Linked DNA regions of Homo sapiens: region 1 is linked to region 2. Evidence: promoter capture Hi-C in human tissues and cell types (Jung and others, 2019). All regions are on one chromosome and are shown on one strand. Each heading gives the region's core, a stretch centred on a gene start or on the middle of the fragment in contact. The rest is flanking DNA. Distances are from core to core; before and after follow the strand shown.

What was found. Contacts are between HindIII fragments. The study calls those that stand out against the background at their distance.
Region 1: a fragment that was not itself captured here is called in contact with the fragment with the promoter of PRRX2 in region 2 in 6 of the 25 tissues and cell types used here (aorta, liver, lymphoblastoid cells and 3 more).

What each region holds. Positions count from the first base shown.
Region 1 is chr9:129,629,848-129,632,547 of GRCh38, reverse strand. The region is part of intron 1 of NTMT1 (N-terminal Xaa-Pro-Lys N-methyltransferase 1); the gene reads right to left. Among named protein-coding and RNA genes, the nearest start is that of NTMT1, 5.0 kb to the right of the region's middle. RefSeq lists an enhancer at 407-1,197. The HindIII fragment of the contact is 4,298 bases long and covers 1-2,700 here.
Region 2 is chr9:129,664,237-129,666,936 of GRCh38, reverse strand. It overlaps PRRX2 (paired related homeobox 2), which reads right to left and starts at 1,290. Exons shown (of 4, transcript NM_016307.4): 1 at 811-1,290. The coding sequence starts at 1,069. The HindIII fragment of the contact is 13,961 bases long and covers 1-2,648 here.

The sequences.
Region 1 (2,700 bases), core at 105-2,604, 34 kb after region 2:
TGCTGAGTGCAGAGAGAAGTCCAGGGTCCCCAAATCTGCTTCTACCCCTTGGATAACAGCATCTTCTGTCTTTTGCACTCAGAGCACCCGCCCCAAGTCCTGGCTTCAAGTTCTTTTACATTTTTATTTTTTCTGGAGTGCAGTGGTGTGATCATAGCTCAATGCAGCCTCCAACTCCCGAGCTCAAGAGACCCTCCCACCTCACCCTCCGGAGCAGCTAGGACTACAGTTGTGTGCCACCATGCCTGGCTAATTATTTTTTGTAGAGATGGGGTCTCACTATGTTACAAAGGTTGGTCTTGAAGTCCTGACCTCAAGAGATTCTCCCACCTTGGCCTCCCAAAGTGCTGGGATTACGGGTGTGAGCCCATGTGCCTGGCCTGGCTTCAAGTTCTTGATATGCTCTATATGACACCTGACTCAGTGGCTTCAGGGCACAGAAAACCCTGATCAATAAAGAGAAACGACCGCAAAGCCGAGAGCACCAGCAGACCCTGGAGGGCCAGGGAAGCTTCCACGCCTCCCTTCCTCTGGCTCAGAGCACAGCAACAACTCACGGTGGGGTCCAGTCCTCCGTTAACAAGGAGTGGGGACTCTGTGCCAGGCACCGGGCTGTGAACCAGGCAGCCAGCCAGGCAGAAAACAATTCTACAGACACAACCACACCTGCAGGGAGGGCTGCAGAGGAGAAGCGCCAGTGCCAGCAGAGCACGGAGGGAGGAAGTGGAGTCGGGTGCGGGGACCAGGGAAGGCATCCCTGAGGAGGGGACGCGTAAGCTGAAACCGATGGATGGGCAAGAATAAGCGCAGTAGGTGGAGGGCGACGGCACTGCTCCTGGAGGGAAGGACAGACAGCCCTCGCGGCTGCCAGTTCCTGGTCTCACAGTCAACTCTAGCAGTTTCGACTGCATCCTACAGAGCAATGAGTCAACCACCCTGAGGCCCAACAGAGAGTGGCCCGGGAAGACCGATGCTTCTGAAGACTGCTGGCGGCGGTGGAGATGGCAGGGGGATGAGGAGACGGTTGCCACGGTAGAAGGAGAGAGAACTAGAAAGCCTCAGCTGGGTCCTGGCAGCAGAGCCCAGGCCCACCTCACCCTTCAGGACAGCGATGACAGTTGGGCGGCTCCGTGCTCCACGGGTGGCCATTCTGCCATAAGCTTCCCAAGGCACAGTGCTGTCACCAAGGCACACCACGCTTAGGGGCTGTTCTAGTTGCTGTGAGGCTTGCCAAGACCTCAGAGAGCTCTAGTCCAGGAGGACAAAGAACAAAGGGAAAGAAAATACACAGCAGAAAAATAAGGATTCTCATGGACCCACAAAGTGTCGAGGACACTCAAAGGGCAGAGGAATCTCCTCCCAACAGCAGATAGGGGCAGCCGCCTGGAGGAGGCAGCCCGAGCTGGGCAGCCAAGCACAGGGAGTGCTGGAGGGGGTGGGGCAGACAGAGGGAGCAGCCGTGGGACAGCATGGGCCATCAGAGGGCGGAGAGTGGAGCGGGGGAAGACTGTGGAAGGTGAGCTCGGAAAGGCAGACGGGGCCTGGATGAGGGTGGCCTCGAGTGCATGCTGGGCACCAACTCTCGGCTGATGTGTTTCCCACACTGCCAAGGCCTAACCTAAAGGAGGCAGAGTGAGAATGGCAGTGGCCGTGCTGAGGACACACAGCAACAGTGGGTGGTAGGAATCCCAGCAGCAGCAGCTGCTACATCCTGATAAACCCATGGTAAAGGGAAAATACCCTCGGTGGAAAACGCGCAGCTGACTGGGAGCTGCAGCTCACCGCCTCGCACGTGCTGCCTCCACACGAGGAGAGCAGGGGGCTTCTAGCAAATGCCTGTCGCCAAAGTTGACAAATCGTAGGTCCAAGACCGTCTGCCTGACTCCTGGAGCTACAGGGTCAACACGGAAGAGTCCACATATGGAACTCGGGTACAGTCCTCAAACACAACTCAAAGCTTAAGACCCAGGAACACTCTAGGGGCTTCAAGAGAAGTGGTCAGAGGGAAACGGGAAAATGCCCTGAGAAGGAGCACGAGGCCTTTGGGAAGCAACTATGAGGAAAGAGAAGGGAAACTAAACACAAGACAAGCTGGAGAATTTTTTCTTCTTTTTTTTTAGAAAGGGTCTCACTGTCGCCAGACTTGAGTACAGCTCAGGTGATCCTCCCATCTCAGCCTCCAGGGTAGCTGGGACTGCAGGCACATACCGCCACACCTGGCTAACTTTTGTATTTTCTGTAGATATGGAGTTTTGCCACGTTGCCCAGGCTGGTCTCAAACACCTGGCTGCAAGCAATCCACCTGCCTCAGCCTCCCAAGGTGTTGGGATTACAGGCAGAAACCACTGCACCCAGCCAAGATTTTTCATTGGTCAAATTTGTTACTGGCCCCAGAACTATATTCTGCACTACTATATTCTGAACCTGTCCTGAAAGAGAAGGAACTTTCCAGAAGCAGTAGGCCCACCCCGCCCAGCCAGCTCAAGAATACTTCTAACAGATGCAACGGGGTTCTTCTTAGATCCGTGATTGGGTCTTCTCACCCTTAGCAGAATCCTTTGGCTGTGCCTAGAGAGAAGCCTGCTTAAACTTCTCTTCAGATTCTTGTTTTTTTGAGATGGGGTCTTACTATGTGGCCCAGGCTGGCCCCAAACTCCTGGGCTCAAGCCATCCTCCCTGCTCAGCCTCCCAAGTAGCTGA
Region 2 (2,700 bases), core at 41-2,540:
GCCCAGAGCCCCCAGCAGGCCGGCCCATCCCCAGAGCTAGGGGACAGGGGCCTGGTTTCAGATCACCGGGCCCCCATCCTTAGTGTGTGCTGAGCCGCGAGGACTCCGGTCCTCCCCTCCCCCACTGAACCGTCCGGGGCTGGGGCCTTTGCTTTTTCTCCATCTTCTCCCCGTCCCTCCCCTTCTTACCAAGGGCTCAGGACCCTGCCATCCTGTGTCACTTTTTGAAAAAGGCCACTTGGGTGGGTTGTTTGTTTTTAAAGCCCCTTCCTGATGACCTTTGACCTCTGCCGGGGAAGAGAGGCCTGGCTGGGCCGTTCCACCGAGGCAGCTGCTCCCGGGGCAAACTGGAGGGTGGGGGGGGGTGGGCAGGCACCCTCGCCCCCCAAAGAGCCCAACTTAAGACCGAGGAGGAGCTGGGGCGGCGCTAGCTCGTGCGGGAGGGGGCGGGTTTGAAACCCCAACGTGCAGCTCAGCGGCTTTGCCCGACTCAGGTCTCTGTTTCCCCAGTTGTAACCCGGCAGCAGCCACACCCACTTCCCAGGCTGTTCGGGAGCCGAATACTGGGGAGCGAAGGCAGCGCACTTCCCCGTGGGGACGCACCCCAAGACCCGAAGAGGGTCCCCCTCCCCCAGCCCAGAGTGCTGGTCAACCGCCGTCCACCGTCACTTACACGCGCCCCCAGAAGTCCTGCCGCCGACCACGCGCCCTGCATCTTCGCCCGCCCCGCGCCGGCTCCCCGGACCCCGCGCCCCGGCCCCGGCCCCGGCCCCGGCCCCGCCACCCCCGTCCCTGGCCGGCCGTACTCACCATCCTGCGGCGCCGCCTCGCTGCCGCTGCTGCCCCCGGACGGCTCCCGTGCTGCGCCCTCCCGCGCCTCGGCCCTGGCCCCGGGGCGCGCCGCCAGCCGCCCGGCCGCCGCCACCTCTTCCAGGTCCAGGAGGTGGCTCACCGAGAAGTTCTTGCGCGCCTGGGCGCAGTCGCCGGGCCCCAGCGCGGGTGGAGGCGGCGGCGGCCCCGGGCCCAGCGCCGGCTTGTCCAGGGCGAAGGCGGCGGCCGCGCTGTCCATGCCCGCGAGCGGCCCCGGGGGGGCCGGCGGGGGTCTCGGGCTCGGGTCCCAGGAAGGGTCGCGGGCGCGGGTCGGAGCGAGAGCCCCGGCCGCCCCGCGCTCTGCCCAGCTCCCGCCGCCTCCTAGCCTCGCGGCCCGCCCGGCGCTGACGTCGGGGAAACAAACTTTCCGCCCTCCCCTTCTCAGCCACGGCCGCTCGCTCCGGAGCCGCTGGTGCACGCGCTGCGCCGGCCACACGCCCCTTCTTGAAGCAAACCTCGCCCCCCGTCCTCTCCTCCGCCCTCTCCTCCCCGCGCGCCTCGCCCGCCCCCACCCCGGCTGCTGGCGCTGGGGGCGGGGAAGGGGTGTCCTCCCTTCACCCTCCCCACCCACTTTTTAGGGAGTGGGAGGTTCCGTGTTTTGTCGTTTTCCATCCCCCAAGTATCTGGGAGGTGATGGCAGAGGGATTCCCCCCTTCCCTTTACAATCGCCTCCGCAGGTGGAGGGGGCGGCCCAGAGACGAAGGCGACGAGCCCCCCACTCCCAGCTCCAGCCTCACTCGCCTCAGCGCCCCCAACAACGGCCCCGCCCGCCCGCGCTGGCCGACAGAGCTCTGTGCACACCACCCGCCCCAAGGCTGTCTCTCCCAGCAGGCAGCGCATCCTCAGGCTCCTGGGGTGTACGCGACCCCCCACCCCGCCTCTCCCCCGCTGCTCCCTGCCAGGTCCCCCACACACACCCACACACCCGGTGCCCACCCCCCAGGAGGCCCCAGGCCCTTCCCCAAGGAAAACCAAGCGGAGAGGCAGGCGCTTCGTTGCAGAATTCCTGGCGCACACACAGAGGACAGCCAGCCTGAGACGGGTGACAGGAAAGAGAGAGGCAGACTTAGGTGTCCGCTCTTGTTTCAGTTTTGTTTTTCAATGAAAGCACAGAAAAGATGTGCGGAGTGAGCAGACCTGAGACCCTAAGCCCCCCGGATGCCACTGCTCTTTCTCCAGGACAGCCGCTCACCGGCCCGTCCCTCTGTCGCCCTGCCCTCACTACGAGGCATAAAGTCACATCAGCCAAAGTCGCCTACCGGAGGAAGCCTTCAGCACATCCTTTCCCTGTTCCCATATGGAAAACCGGCCCGCACACATCCCTGAAAGCCTGCGGACCATTATTTTTATTTATTATTTATTATTATTATTTATTTTTATTTTTTTGAGACAAGAGTCTGGCTCTGTCGCCCAGGCTGGAGTGCAGTGTCGTGATCTCGGCTCGCTGCAACCTCCGCCTCCTGACTTCAAGCGCTTCTCCTGCCTCAGCCTCTCGAGTAGCTGGGATTACAGGTGTGCATCACCATGCCCGGGTAATTTTTGTATTTTTAGTAGAGGAGGGGTTTCACCATGTTGGCCAGTCTGGTTTCCAGCGTCTGACCTCAGGTGATCCACCTGCCTCGGCCTCCCACAGTGCTGGGATTACAGGCGTGAGCCACCGCACCCAGCCGGGAACACTATTTTTAAGGAAAGCCTAGCAATACATTATAATACATTAATCCTCACAGCGTGTGTTGTTTGTGTCCGCCCCCACCCCCTCCCGCGCTGGAAAGGAATCGACTTCAAAATGAGGCCGAGTAGGCCGGGCACAGTGGCTCACGCCTGTAATCC